Regions from separate parts of the Homo sapiens genome. Here all the other regions are linked to region 1. The links are contacts of gene promoters, found by promoter capture Hi-C in blood cells and fetal thymus (Javierre and others, 2016). All regions are on one chromosome and are shown on one strand. Each heading gives the region's core, a stretch centred on a gene start or on the middle of the fragment in contact. The rest is flanking DNA. Distances are from core to core; before and after follow the strand shown. Region 1 holds the start of CHD7 (chromodomain helicase DNA binding protein 7). Region 2 has its middle 300 kb from the start of CLVS1. Region 3 holds the start of LOC100130298 (hCG1816373-like).

What was found. Contacts are between HindIII fragments. The CHiCAGO score rates a contact against its expected background, and 5 or more counts as called.
Region 2: a contact is called between a fragment that was not itself captured here and the fragment with the promoter of CHD7 in region 1, in 12 of 17 cell types (naive CD8 T cells, activated CD4 T cells, non-activated CD4 T cells and 9 more). The highest score is 23.0, in naive CD8 T cells.
Region 3: a fragment that was not itself captured here is called in contact with the fragment with the promoter of CHD7 in region 1 in 10 of 17 cell types (naive CD8 T cells, neutrophils, naive CD4 T cells and 7 more); the score reaches 15.2 in naive CD8 T cells.

Annotation. Positions count from the first base shown.
Region 1 is chr8:60,675,641-60,680,653 of GRCh38, reverse strand. It overlaps CHD7 (chromodomain helicase DNA binding protein 7), which reads right to left and starts at 1,914. Exons shown (of 38, transcript NM_017780.4): 1 at 1,572-1,914. RefSeq lists silencers at 437-806, 1,467-1,566, 1,927-2,366. The HindIII fragment of the contact is 9,178 bases long and covers 1-4,023 here.
Region 2 is chr8:60,986,356-60,991,368 of GRCh38, reverse strand. It overlaps a transcript of CLVS1 not described here. Among named protein-coding and RNA genes, the nearest start is that of CLVS1, 300 kb to the left of the region's middle. The HindIII fragment of the contact is 4,294 bases long and covers 288-4,581 here.
Region 3 is chr8:60,967,169-60,972,181 of GRCh38, reverse strand. LOC100130298 (hCG1816373-like) reads left to right here and starts at 4,434. Exons shown (of 2, transcript NR_034003.1): 1 at 4,434-4,609. It also overlaps a transcript of CLVS1 not described here. RefSeq lists enhancers at 4,743-4,802, 4,863-4,912. The HindIII fragment of the contact is 7,322 bases long and covers 1-5,013 here.

The DNA.
Region 1 (5,013 bases), core at 665-3,164:
AAAAGAGTCCGACCCATAGCAGGAGCACTCTCCGCGCCGCTCGCTTCACGGGGGCGCTCACAAAGCGGGCGGCCGGCCGGGAGTTTGGGGTGCGCTCCCACGGCTCCGGGCTCCTCGAGGCAGAGCCATCCGGAGAAAGGCGGCTCGGTAATGATGGCTGCTCGGGGCCGGCGGCTCCTTCCCCAGAGCCTCCCGACCAGCGCCCCCACCCCCGCCCGGGAGCCGCCGCCGCCGCCGCCCCCGCCCCCCCCCCCCGCGACCTCGACAGCCCCGCGCCGCCGCGCCCGCCCCGCACCGCAGCCCAGCCGGTGCCCGCGCCCCCGCCCGAGCCCCGCGCCCCCAGCGAGCCCAATCCCCGGTGCGAACCAAACAAACAACGCGTCCCCCACCGCCCTCCTTTCCTCTCCCCGCTGACCGCTTGGCCTCCAGCCACCTCGGCCGTTCACGCTCCAAGCCGCGGCTCTCTGCGAGGGCAGAGCGCACCCGGGTCACCTCGGGGGCCACCTGGTGACCACCCCCCACCGGCGCTGACCCCCGGCGGGTTGGGGGGCGGGGGAGCCGAGTTGCGTTGGAAGGTTAAAGTCGCTATTATGCAGCTGCCGCCGCCGGCGGCCCGGCCAGCTCGACAAGGTGGGGTCCCCTCCTCGCCGCGCCTCCCGGCGCTCGCCCCGGCCCCGCTCCCTTTCTTCTCCTCCTAGCGCACTTGGGAGCCGCCGGGGAGCCCCAGGAGCCCCCAACTCCGGGCTCGCAACTCCGCGCCCGCGACCGGCACTGGCTGAGCTCGGGACGCCTCCCGCGCCGCGTGTTCGCGCTGCCCCCGCCCCACGCGGCGCCCCGCGCACTTTCCCCGCCGCCGACCCACCTCGCTCGGTGGCGGTCCCCGCGCGGGCTGGCGCCGCCGCGCCGGGAGGAACGCACTTTGTTCGCGCCGGTGCGGCCGCAGCTCCCGGCGAGCGCGGCGTGGTCGGTCCGGAGCGGGGGGCGGGGGCGGGAGGCGGGGGTCGCCGCCGTCCCCGAGCCGCCGCCGCCGCTGCTCAGCCGCCCCGCGCCCGCGCGCCCATCGCCCGCTCGCACTTGAGTTGGAGCCCAACTTTTCCTCCTTCCTTTTTCTCTCGAATGGAGCCGGCAACTCGTGCTCGGCGCCGGCGGGAGGAAACGCGCTCGCGCTCCCCCGCGCGCAGACACGCTCCCTCCTGTCCCCCGTACCCCCCCCCCACGCCGGCAGCACAACAAAAAGCCATTTACATGCGAGGAAGTGACCCTCGGCCGCACCGCGCGCCCCCGCCGCCGCCGGCCCGGCGGACGCAGGCAAAAGTTGGGGCGCCGGGCGGCGCTCGGGGCGCGGGTTCGGGCCCCGCGGGCGGCGACGCCGGCGACACTACGCGGGCGGCGCTGCGCTCCTGCGCTGGCCCCGGCCCCCTCCCGCCCTCGCCCCTCGCCCCTCGCCCCGCACACGCCCAACTCCTCGCTCCCAACTCCTAGCGCGGCCCCGGCCCCGGCCCGGAGCGATTTCCTGCCGCCGCCGCCGCCGCCGCCCCTCCCGGGGGCGCCGGGCGAACTCTCGCGCTCACCGGGTCGGTCGGGCTCCTCCGCTGCCTAGTGCCGAGGGGAAAACAAAACGCAGAGCGGGCTCCGGAGTTGGCTCGGCAGCTGCGGCCAGGGGGCTGAATCCACGGGCACGGAGTTGGCCGGGGGCGAACGGGTCTCTGGTGAGTTTCAGGGTGTCCGGGTCCCCGGGCCGCCTCCTCCGCGGCGCTCCTTTGTGTAATTTCACTCGATTCAAGTTTAATCCGATAGTTCCCGAGCACGAGCGCGTCCGCACCACCACGACTCAACCCCCGCGCCGCCGCCGCCGCCGCCGCTGCCGCCGCCGCCGCCGCCGCCGCCGCGGCCCCAGCACGCCAGCGCCTGCGCGCGTCCGGCACGCCGCGCGCACCCGAAGCCGCGGGGCCGCGCGCGCCCGCCGCCAGCTCCCTCCGGGCCGCGCCGCGCCCGCGCCCGCGCCCGCGCGCCGCCACCTGACGTCAGGCGCGCCTGGCATAATTTATGCAAGAATTCGGCCGGGGTGGCGGAGGCCGAGGGAGAGGCCGAGAGAAAAGGGGCGGCGCGGAGCTGCTGGGCCGCGGGCCGCGGGCCGCAAGGGCGGGCCGGGCGCCACTTCCCGTCCCCTGGCGGGCGCCGGCGCTTCAGGCGGGTCTCCCCGCCGGCCGGTGCGCTGCTGCCGCGGAGTCTTCCTTGCCCGGCTGCACGGAGCGCTCGGCCGCTGCGCCCGGGCGCGGACTGGAGGGGCTGCTGCCACGTCTCCCGCGCGGCACCTTCCCGGAGCCGGGTGCGCCGCCCCGGGGCAGGAAGCGGGGCTCCGGGAGGGCTGCGACCCTCCTGGCTGCCGCGAAGGGTTTCCGACGCTGCGCGGCCGGCGGCGGCCGGGGGTGACTGGCAGTCTCTGCAGTAATTATCCTTCAACTTGAAATTATTTTCCCACATGAAATTATTCGGAAGGGACATGTTCCATTCCAGATGGGTTCGTGCCTGCTTCTCCACATCGCTTTTCCCACCTCTTCGTGGATAGGACACCGGATCCACTACTTAATCAAAAAGTTTAACTAGATGGCATTGATTTTGTCGAATTTGTTACCATACCAAAAAAGAGAGAGAAGGCAGAGAGCTCAATGATTATGAAACAAAGAAATAGGATGTATGCCCATTATTAAACGTGTCGGGACTAGAATGTTTTACTCATTCTTTGGCCAAAATGGCACTTGTATCTGATTGCATAGTCTTAAAAATCCGAGCCTCTTATTCCATTTCTCTTCCCGGTACAAAATGAATGTTAAACCTGAAGAAAAAAAACTTTTTTTTACTAATTTTTATTTTAGGAAATAGATCTACAAACATGGATTAAGCCTCTTCTATCTGCAAAATACGGAGCAATTATAATGTGTTTAAACCATCAATTGTAAACTTTAAGATAATTTTATTAGGTTAAAGATTGCACTTATTTTAAAATCAGGAAAGGAACTCATATCAACCAAAGATTGCCCTATGGCAGGTACAGACTGACTGGTTATTACTGGACTCCAAAATAAACTGAGAAAATAGCAAAACTATGTAAAATGTACTAATCTCACTCACTGATGGTTACACTACCTGTAGTGCTAAGCCTGTAATCACAATATTGTTATTTGGACAAAAGATTAATCAAAACTATCTCATTAAGTAACTACTGCAACTATTCAATAAGTTTGATTATCCTAGACTTAATCACTAAGACATTGATTTTCTGATTTTAGTAATAATTCTATAAATATATCACATTATATTGTGGTTTGTTAAATGCACTGCTTTTAGCTTGCTTTCATCATGTATTTGAGTTTTGTTCTAAAAGAAATAAATGTTTTAATGTTTAAGGAGCTTACAGATCATCAAAAAGAACATAGAAGACAGTACAGAAAGAATTCTGGCATTTAAAAAGTTGAAACCACTAAAATCAACTTCCATCTGTTTTAAACCCGGTATCACAAACCAAGAATCACAACTCTGAGGTTAGGCTACTGTTTCCATTAAGTTTATATTTCCCAATGAAAGTATATGAAAGGTGCTTTAGGGGTGTGTGGGGCGGGGGGGTCAAAAACAGGACACAATGTCTAGAAAAAAAATCGCTAGTACCTGACTATATTAGAACACATTTTTAAAATAATGTGCCATAAAAAATTATGTCTTATCTTTTACAGTGTGCCACAGCTCGATATCAGATGTGCATCTATTTCAAGGCAATTCACAGGAGAAAAAAAATGACATCTACATATAGTGAAATTACAATATTGCAATTAACTTGTTATCAACAAATATGACTATGAGGAGATTCCCTGTGCTCTTGTACATTTAACTCGAAAGCTAGGAAACTTCCTTTTGATATATACCAGTACCCAATGTAAAAACAGTCCTACAGAATATAAGTCCTCTGACTTATAGTCTCCTTATCCTGATCACTGCCCTGAGCCATCATGAAGAAGTCTCTAAGCTTTTAGATGTTGTGGTGGTGTGGAACGTAAGGGGCCTTAAAAAGTAGAGGCCCTCAGGGGCAAACTCCTAGGCAGATCTGGCCTACCTGAGTCATAGCTCTCACCACACCACCACCATCCCCCAACACTCCCCTTTAGCCTGAAATGTTTTTTCTCCATTTGCTTCACTATTGAAGTTTTCCCAATGAGAGTAATTTGAATTCACAAGCTTTCTCTTTAAGTATGCAAATACCTTAGGGTGAGATAAGGGGCTACTGGTCTTTCACAGATGAGTGTAAATTGGTTCAATGGGTTGCTTTCCTCCCAACAGCTAGCCAGAGTAACAAATTTAGAGACTTAGCCATTCATTCAACTTCGAGTGCCTAAGAGTTTCCAGGATTGGTTCTAGGTACTGGAGATATAGTAGTGAACAAAACAGACAAAACGTCCTGCCCTCATGGAGTTTACAATCTAGTGGATTGGTAGTTTTGATCTGGTGATAAGGGAGAATGTTAATTTTGGAGTCTGAGCCCTGGAGGAATAGGACAGACCTGAGTTCCGTGTAGCCAGAGGACAGTGGAAAGGTACTAAGGACCTGGGAAGGAGGGCATTGAAGAATGGAGCGGGCCAAGCAGAAAGCAGTTGAGAAAAACACCAAAGAAAATATGACCCACTACAAAAAGGTTGTCTAGGCCCTAGGTCATGAATAGATACAGTCTATTTGAAGAGCTCAGACTTAATGCTGAATTCCACAGACAAATAAATATCTCTGGAAAAATAGCCCAGAATGTATCAACCTATAATACCTGTGGTGAGGGGGTAATGTGCACATCTAAAATAACTGAAAAAACACTCTAACTCTCAAACACTTAAAAATCAAGTCCTATCTATATTAAATGTTTCCAACTTTAAAATATTATGTAAATTACACTAATTCCAGTGTTGAGGGCATCCTTCAGTATATTTTTGGAACTCATCTTTTGAAATTGTGTTCAGAACCAATTTGCAAGTA
Region 2 (5,013 bases), core at 1,185-3,684, 310 kb before region 1:
CTCCTCTCTCCTAAATAGATAACAATTTTTCAGTTTTACATGTGCCCTTTCTGCCTATACACATATGACTAGAGCAAACAAGACTAGAGATTTTTTTTCCTCTTTACCTATACAAAAAGTAGCATACCATGCACAGTGTTCTGTAACTTCAATTTTTTTTTGTGCTAGCTCTTGACTATTTTGCATGTTGTTGACTTATGTCTTGTAGTAGTATTATTATTGTTATTATTAATATTACTTAGCTTTTCACCAATGTAGGTCTTTCCTTTCCTACCAGATGGTAAGCTTCTGGGAAACAAAAGCTGCATCTTACTCAATTTTGCATAAGATAGGTATTCAGTAAAAAAATCTGTTAATTAGTTGGGCACGTTGGCTCATGCCTGTAATCTCAGCACTTTGGAGGCCAAGGCAGGTGGATCACTTGAGGTCAGGAGTTCAAGACCAGCCTGGCCAACATGGTGAAAACCCGTCTCTGCTAAAATGCAAAAATAAATTAGCCAAGCGTGGTGGTGGGTGCCTGTAATCCCAGCTATTCGGGAGGCTGAGACAGGAGAATCGCTTGAAACCAGGAGGCGGAGCTTGCAGTGAGCCAAGATTATGCCACTGCACTCCAGTCTGGGTGATAGAATGAGACTCTGTCTCAAAAAAAAAAAAACAAAAAAAACCCTGTTAATTAATATAGGTGATGAATAAGCATCTTTGTTGAAAACATCAGTTACTATTAAAAAGAACAAATGGTTCATCTATCCTATTCTCTCAAATTTTTTACTTTTAATTTTGCCACTTTTCCAACATTCACCAGAGTAGACATAATAGACTCCTGGGTACTCATCCCAGCTTCAACAAATTTCCACATTTTGGTGATCTTGATCCTTGCCCATCCCCACCACCCATCCACCCTGGGGAAGAAGAGGCTGAGGTATTTTAGTACAAATGCAAGACATCATGTCATTTTATCTGTAAATACCCAAACGAGCACCTCTAATGGATAAAGGCTTTGTTTTAATAACATAAACGTGTGCCATCAAAATTAACAGCAGTTCTTTAGCAGCATCTATTGTCCAGACCATAATCAGACCTCCCTGATTTTGGCAAAACTGTCTTTACACAGTTAGCTTGTTGGAATTAGCAGGAGCCACACAAATCCACCGATGATACCTGAACATTGTGTTCATAGTTCTTAGTTCTCTCTCATTCCATCGTTTCCTCCTCCTGCTTTTTTTTTTTTTTTTTTTTTTTTTTTGGAGATGGAGTCTTGCTCTGTCACCCAGGCTGGAGAGCAGTGACGCGATCTCGGCTCACTGCAACCTCCACCTCCTGGGTTCAAGCGATTCTCCTGCCTCAGCCTCCATAGTAGCTGGGACTACAGGTGCCTGCCAACACACCAGGCTAATTTTTTGTATTTTTAGTAAAGATGGGGTTTCACCGTGTTAGCCAGGATGGTCTCGATCTCCTGACCTCATGATCCGCCCGCCTCGGCCTCCCAAAGTGCTGGTATTACAGGCATGAGTCACCGCACCCAGCCTCCTCTGCCTCTTTTATGCCATAGATTTAGTAGAGAAACCAAGTCATCTGTCCTGAACACTGTCCACATTCTGCACTTAGTTGACTGCTTTCTTGCAGTATCATATAACTTGTTTTCTATTGCCCAGGTTTTCCTGAAAACTGGCAAGATTTGTTTTGAAAATTTTTTCTTAGCCGCTTTGTGGAGATTTGATTATACAGTGGGATAGTGGACATTGAAACGCCCACATTACTTGCCCTGGCACAAGATAGTAGCCCCCAGACTAGAGCAATAGCACATAGCTTCAGGGGTCACGTAGACAAAGAAATGGGCCAATTCAAGAAATGTTTAGGAGGTGGAATCAACAACACTTGTGGACTAAGTGGAAAGGAGTGTGTTTCCAATGCTCTGTTAAGAATCTGCACTTTGGGAGGCCGAGGTGGGTGGATCGCCTGTCAGGAATTCAAGACCAGCCTGACTAACATGGTGAAACTCCATCTCTACTAAATATAAAAAATTAGCTGGGCATGGTGGCACATGCCTGCAATCCCAGCTACTTGGGAGGCTGAGGCAGGAGAATCGCTTGAACCCGGGAGGTGGAGATTGCAGTGAGCCGAGATCACGCCATTGCACTCCAGCCTGGGCAACAAGAGCAAAATTCCATCTCAAAACAAAAGAAAACAAAAAAAAAGAATCTGGGGCTAGGGCAGTGGCTCACGCCTGTAATCCCAACACTTTGGGAGGCCAAAGCAGGAGGATCATTTGAGCTCAGGCAAGGCCAGCCTGGGCAACATAGGGAGACCCCCATCTCTACTAAAAAAAAATTGTTTGTAATTAGCTGGCATGGTGGCCCACACCTGTAGTCTCACCTACTTGGGAGGCTGAAGCAGGAGGATCATTTGAGGCTGGGAGATCAAGGCTGTGGTGAACTTTGATCATGCCACTGCACTCCAGCCTGGATGACAGAGCAAGACTCTGTTGCAAAAAAGAATCTGAACCTCTATAAGACAAACCAAAAAAGCTACTTTCTCCTGGAAAAAACATTTACATGTTTCCCTACATTCTTTTCACAATTATCATTTATGGCAAGTTTTAAGGCATACAAAGTTGTAGTAGTATTGTTGGTGTTAAATTTTATTGCTGTGGCTTTAAAACATAAACAAAAAAAAATTCCTTCTTAAGTAGTTGGAAATTGTAATCATACTCTTGGGAATAGATTTTACTGCTATGGATACTGTAAAGCACAAAGATAATAAATTTAAATTACAGAATTAGTATTGAGAATAAATTTTATTGCTCTGGCTAGCACATTAAGAAGTAGAATTCATAACTCTTTTTTTTTTCAGCAGCTGTTTTACATAGAATGACTCTGGTTCTGGTGTGCAGGGAATATCAAAGGTCACCGGCATCACAGGTCATATGTCCTAATGAGGAACCCGGGCCCACGGGAGCAGCTTGATTCTTACAGGTTGTCTGGGAGCTGGAGAGAAGCTGTCCCAGGCACCAGTATCTGGCAGGTGGGAAGACTGGGAAGACTACCTGCACCTCCTCTTCTCAGCATTGAGGAGAGGTCATCTGGGTTGCTACTAACTTCTCCCCCAACCACTCGCATGGAGATGTCTCTGCACCCCCCAGTCTCTACAGGGTCCTTTTTTGAAAAGCTCTCCAGTTCAAGAATGGAGTTGGGTTTTGGTGTTGGATGGTCTTTCTCTTAGTGAACATTCTCTGCTCACTCTGCATCCATCTCAGTGAGGGGACAGCCACACACTCAAACAGGAATCAGAAGTCATTCTTGGCTCTCCTCTCCCTCACATCTGCCATTCACCAGCCCTGCAAATCCTACCTTCCCAGATGTCTCTCAGATTCCTGGCTCACTCCCCACCCCATTTCAGACTACCTTCATCTCTCACTAGCACTTTTATTATTTGTTAAGTTTTTTTAAGAGATTTGGTCTTGCTCTATCACCAGGCTGGAGGGCATGATCATGGTTCACTGTAGTCTTGAACTCCTGGCTCAAGCAATCCTCCTGCCTCAGCCTCTGAGTAGCTGGGACTACAGGCTCGAGCCACCACACTGGCTCTCATTGGCACTTTTATTACATCCTCTTTCCTCCATGCTTATCATGATAATGATGACCATTGTTACTGGGCATGAATGAAGTGTCAGGAACTGTGCTCAGTGCCTGATATCAGTATCTCATTTAACCCTCATAACATCCCTGTAAAGTAAGGATACATTTTTTTCATAAATGAGGAAATGGAGGTTCAGAGGTTAACTATTGAAAGATATCATTTATTTTTTTAAATCAGCAGGCCCAAGCAGAAAGTAAATCTTAGATCCTTTCCTATTCTTCAGTGACTCCCTGCTATCATTCCTTCTTTCCTTCCTTCCTTCCTCCAACAAACAGGCAACTTAGCATAAAACTCAAGAGCACTGCCAATCTCTCCAGACTCAACCATCACAACTCAAGTAACCGTAGCTCTCACAGAGTGACTGGTAGTTCTTGGGATGTCATTTGCTATTGTCTGCAATGTAACCCATTTCCATTTCATTTTCTAGCTTCTATTTATCCTTCAAGATTTATTTTAGACATCATTTCCATCAGGAAGCCACTCTTAACTATGCACTTCCAGACACATGAGCATGCACACACACAAAGCTGGGTATGTGGCTCCCCTCCCGGCTCCTCCAGTACCCTGGGCATCTCCCTATCACAGCGCTCATCACGTTCCATTGTAATCATCTGCTTTGTCTTAGAAATGCCTCTGGACTGTCATTTGCCTGAGAGCAGGGACTGTGTCTTCTGTCTGAACTCCCAGAATCTGATACCTAGCACACAGTGGCTACTCAATGGCAGCTTACTGAATGAATGCATGAGCAAATGAATAGGTTAAACTACAGTGAACTCAACAGCAATGATGAGTACAATGACACATAAGCCTTTCTAGTCTCAAAGAAATATCAAGTCATGCCTCTTATTCAGTTTGAGGAATGATACTACTATATTGTTTCAAATTCAATCTGCAATTACCCACCTGTTCTCATTCTAATGCCCAGTACGATGTTACCCATAAGCTTATGGCAGGATATAATTGATGGAGGATAAGCAGTTCCTTTCAGTGCCCTTTAGTGAGTGCATGAAAAATAGCACCTTAGCAAGCATATACATAAATGTTGGGAGTAATGTTTACCATGTTAACAACAAATTTGGAACGCTTCAGGTAGTTAAAGAAATCAGAAGGTTACATAAATTCTAATCTTCCGCAGTTCCAGAGTTGGCTCAATTCCTGCGAGCTTTTTGTTTGAGAGAAAACTCCTAAGTTCTTAAGTTATGTGAAGCTCTTTGCTTTGCAAATGGTCCCCACTGAGGTCATAAACTCCAAAAGTCAAAGAGTATGGAATTCGGGAATATAGAGAGTGGGAGAAGCTGACACAAGCCAGGCCTCTGACCCTGGCTGTTCATGGCTGGTTCCTGCCTCTGTTTCTGTTTCCATAGAAACAGCCATCCG
Region 3 (5,013 bases), core at 1,024-3,523, 290 kb before region 1:
CACACAGAGAGGCCCTAATGGGTGAGACAGCATAGAGAGAGAGAGAGAAAGACAGTTACAAAGACAGAGACAGAGAGGCCAAGGCACACCAGACATGAGAATGACAAAGCCAGCATAGAAGTGAACCCTCCATCCCAGCTGCACCAGTTGAGGCCACGTGATCAGACCCACCACCCAGCCGAGCTTACCAAATTCCTGACCCTAAGAATCATGAGCAAATACAATTGCTTGCAAGCCATAATGTTTTGGGGTAGTTTGTTACACAAAAATAGAAAACTGACAGAGGCAGCCAGTAGCAGCCTGGGGTATCTTAAAGAGAAACGGGGGAAGGTGGGGGTGGGGGTGATGTATACTTCCTGAATGTTGAAATCCCAAACTGTCTTCTCGATTCAGTTCTCAGAATGCTGGCAGCCAAGGTATTACCCTCTGGGCAGGAGACTGGCAAATTCTCCTCTGGGAAATATGAACAGCTCTAGAAGACCTAAAGCAACTCACTCAGGGATTCCTCACAGCCACCCTGCTGAGAGGCTCATTTTCACAGGACCCCAGCTATAGGCAGGCAACCCCCATGCCAATAAACATGTGTAAACAACCCAGGTTTACTCTGCACCTCTGGAAGCCTTTATCATGAAAGAGAGAGACCAAATACACAGAAAAAAAGGGGATTTGGAAGAAACAGACACTATGCAGGCAAGAGAAAAGTTAAAATCAAAGTGAGCATTACTGTCCTTGGGGACAAAGATGTGGAAGATACTGCACCCACAAAACAAAGAAGAGCAGGATGCTATTAAAAAGGAAAAGTAGGCCGGGCACAGTGGCTCTCATCTGTAATCCCAGCACTTCGGAAGGCCAAGGCAGGAGGATGGCTTGAGCCCAGGAGCTCCAGGCCAGCCTGGGCAACATGGCGAAACCCTATCGCTACAAAAAATACAGAAAAATTAGCTGGGTGTGGTGGTGGGCGCATGTAGTCCCAGCTACTCGCAAGGCTGAGGTGGGAGGATCACCTGAGCTAAGGAGGTCGAGGTTGCAGTGAGCTGTGATTGTGCCACCTGCACTCCAGCATGGGTGACAGAGTCAGACTCTGTCTCAAAAAAAAAAAAAAAAAAAAAAGGAAAAGTCATCAAAGAACAAAAAAAAAAAGTTGCTAGATTGTTAGACATTTAAAATATAATAATATAAATAAATAACTCAGCTGAAGAGATGGAAGATAAGTTGAGGAAACGTTTTAGAAAGAGGAGCAAAGGACTGAGATGGAAAATAAAAGAGAAAAGATAAAAAAATTAGAAGACCAGTGCAGACTAACAATTATCTGTTTCATCCAAATAATAGAGTTCCAAAGAGAGAGAACTAAAGAAATAGAGGGGATGAAATCACCAATAAAATAATTCAAGGAAATTTCCCAGAATTGAATGGCATGACATATACCAAGTCACATCATCATGAAAGTTCACAGCATTGGTGAGAAAAAGAAGATTCTGCAAGAGGGAATGGAGATTTCAAAGGAAAGGTCATGTACAGAGGTTAAGAAGTCAAATGACTTAGAACTTCTCAACAGCAATACAGGGAGATAGAAGACATGGGTGCAATGCCTTCCAAATTCAGAGAAATTATTTGCATCCTGGACTCACCTACCCAAACTGTGCATCAAGGGCACGTGATTTTCACACAAATTTTCAGACACATAAGGTTGCAAAAAATTAACCTCCCACACGCTTTTCTTAGGAAACTGCAGAACATGTTTCATAAAACAAAGGAATTAACCAAGGAGGAAGAAATGAGATCCAGGAAACAGGCTTCAACACAGTAGAACAATAAAGGAAATTCCCAGGACATTAGTGAAGAGGGATCTCAGGATGACCAGCAGCCGGTCCTGAGGAGAGCTCAGCAGAGGGCTCCAGGGCAGACCTCTCAGAAGATGAGGAGACAGAATGGCGGATGTGAATCCGCATCTCAAGAGAAGATCCAGATCACAGGCATAGAATCAGAGTTGAAAAGTGCATGGAAAACCAAATAAATAAGCCAAGAACAACTTTAATCCAGAGCAGCCCTCCCCAGCAGAACCAGAATGTGAGCTCCATGTGTAATTTTAAATGTTTTATAATCACATTTTTTAAAAGAACTCAAATTCATTTTAATAATACAGTTGCTCCTTGACGTATCGGGGGAGGCGACTTTGATATATCGGGTTCCAGGACCCCCTCAAATACCAATATCCATGAAAGCTCAAGCCCCTTATATAAAATGGTATAGTAATTGCATAGAACCCATGCACATCCTGTTGTATATTTTAAATCATCTCTAGATTACTTATAATATCTAATGCAATGTAAAGGCTCTATAGATAGTTGTTATACTGTATTGCTTTTTTATTTGTTTTATTTTTAATTTTTTTCTTGAATATTTTTGATCCTAGGTTGGTTAATTCATGGATGCTGAATCCATGGACAGGGAGGGCTGACTGTGTGTTATATTTAATTCAATATATCCAAAATATGTCAACATAAAACCAATAAGAACTAAAAATAAAATCCTAACAGCCCCCGCCCCTGCCAACTGACTGAACTGACCCCCTCTTGGCCAAGGGGATCCCAGAGAAACCTTAAAAACTGAGTTCCTGGCCATGATGGGATAGGACGTCAAACACGTATAACCCCTTTCTTTTACGGTTTAGACACAACCACTGACAAGCATTAATATTAAAACAGAGATCGTAAGGCTGACATAACAGACGCTTTGTGGCAGTAAGATACCGAATTGGAAACAGAACCTAAGGCTATGCTAGGCAAGGGTTAAGTCATGCACCCCTACACTTAAAGAGTATACTATGTCCTAAGGGCTACAGGGTTTTTATTTTTCTCTGGCAGCCAAACAAGCAGTGGCCCTGAGATAAGCAATATTGAAACAACTGCAGCTCACCAGCCACCAGACACTGCCTGACTAACCCCCAACCCCTGTTCCACAGCCATAACTACAGCTTTGATTGGACAAGAGCCTTATTTCAGTAACTTTCTCCTGATAAGAGACCACTGACTATAGACTGGTTCTGGCTGGATTACAGAGGCTGTACACTGAGTGCCTTGGTGTCCCTGCTTCACCTTTTGACGTATAGAGCTTGATTGTGATACACTTCATTGTTGTCTCCACCACAAGGTGAACATGGCTTGTATGTAATATACATGTTTGTTCAGAACACATGCATTAGGACCCCCTTTGTGAACATCCATAGCACCATGCCTGGCCTCCTAGTTTTCTTTTTCTTTTATTTTTTTTTATTTTATTTATTTATTTTTTTTGAAACAGGGTCTTGTCCTATTACCTAGGCTGGAGTGCAGTGGCATGACTGCAGCTCACTGCAGCCTTAACCTGCCAGGCTCAAGTGATTCTCCCACCTCAGCCTCCCAAGTAGCTGGGACTACAGGCACATGCCCCCACACTCAGCTAATTTTTGTATTTTTTGTAGAGATGGGGTTTTGCCATGTTGCCCAGGCTGGTCTCGAACCCCTGGCCTCAAGTGATCTGCCCACCTCAGCCTCCCAAAGTGCTGGGATTATAGGTGTGCACCACCATACCAGCCCCAGTTTTCCTAACAAACATAACAATATTAGTTATTGTTAATAATATTGATTAAACTCATACAGGTTATAAATTTGATTTTTTTTTTTTTTTTGAAACGGAGTCTTGTTCTGTGGCCAGGCTGGAGTGCAGTGGGGCAATGTCAGCTCACTGCAACCTCTGCCTCCCGGGTTCAAGCGATTCTCCTGCCTCAGCCTCCCTAGTAGCTGGGACTACAGGCGCACACCACCATGCCAAGCTAATTTTTTGTATTTTAGTAGAGACAGGGTTTCACCATGTTGGTCAGGCTGGTCTCGAACTCCCGACCTCAGGTGATCCGCCGGCCTCGGCCTCGGCCTCCCAAAGTGCTGCGATTACGGGCGTGAGCCACTGCGCCCGGCCTTGCACAGTGGGTCACACCTATCAGCCCCGCAATTTGGGAGGTCAAGGTGGGAGGTCACTTGACCCCAGGAGTTTGAGACCAGCCTGAGCAACATAGTGAGACACCATCCCACAAAAAAATACGTAACAATTCGCCAGGGGCAGGCCTGTGGTCCCAGCGACTTGGGGGACTGAGGTGGGAGAATCGCTTGGGCCCGAGAATTTGATGCTGCAGTAAGCAGAGATCACACCACTGCACTCCAGCCTGGGCGACAGAACAAGACCCTGTCTCTAAATAAATAAATTAAATTAAATGATCTCTGGAAGATTAGTCCACGGGTGTGTGGAGAATTTTCTAGAAAATACTATCAATGTAGGATTGTCACTTTAAAACGTCACCCGCTCTCATTGGTCCGTGGATAGAGCAATTAGGCAAAGCTAGGAGGCAGCCCTGAGTACTCATAAGAGGAAAAAGAAAGCAAAAGGGATGCCGGTGGTGGCAGATGCTTCCTCCTGGCCAAATCCCAAATCCCACCCTCAGCACCCACACCCTGAGCAGTGGGCAGGAGAGGCCTGAAAACGTCTGTACAAATGGCTTCCGAGAAGCCCTGGAGATAAAGGAGCCAGAGGCAGCCACACATGGTTCCCAGAAGCTGAATGCTGCGCAGACGACAGGGTAAGTATGCACTGCACCCTGCTTCACCCACACCTCAAGCCGTCCCCTTCTGCTGGGGTCTGGCTACTGCACTCGTGGTCCCCTTGGTAGCTTCACGATTTATGTCTCTATGCGGCTTCCGTTCCCCTTCCCTCTGCCAAGCCAGTACCACCATCCTTCACCGCCCAGTGCAGAGCTTCTTTCTCCAGTGAGTTTTCTCTGACCACTCCTGTCCTCACCAGCCATCTTTGTTTTTAATTCTCATGCACCTCTTTGTGTATGTCTTACACAGTTTGGGCATTCATTATATGCTATTTTAAATTGCATGCTCTTGTTTCATATGTAAGTTCCAATCTGCATGGTAACAAGGACAATACCCTATGCTCTTGCATGTTCCATCAGACCTAGCGCAGGACTACATCCAT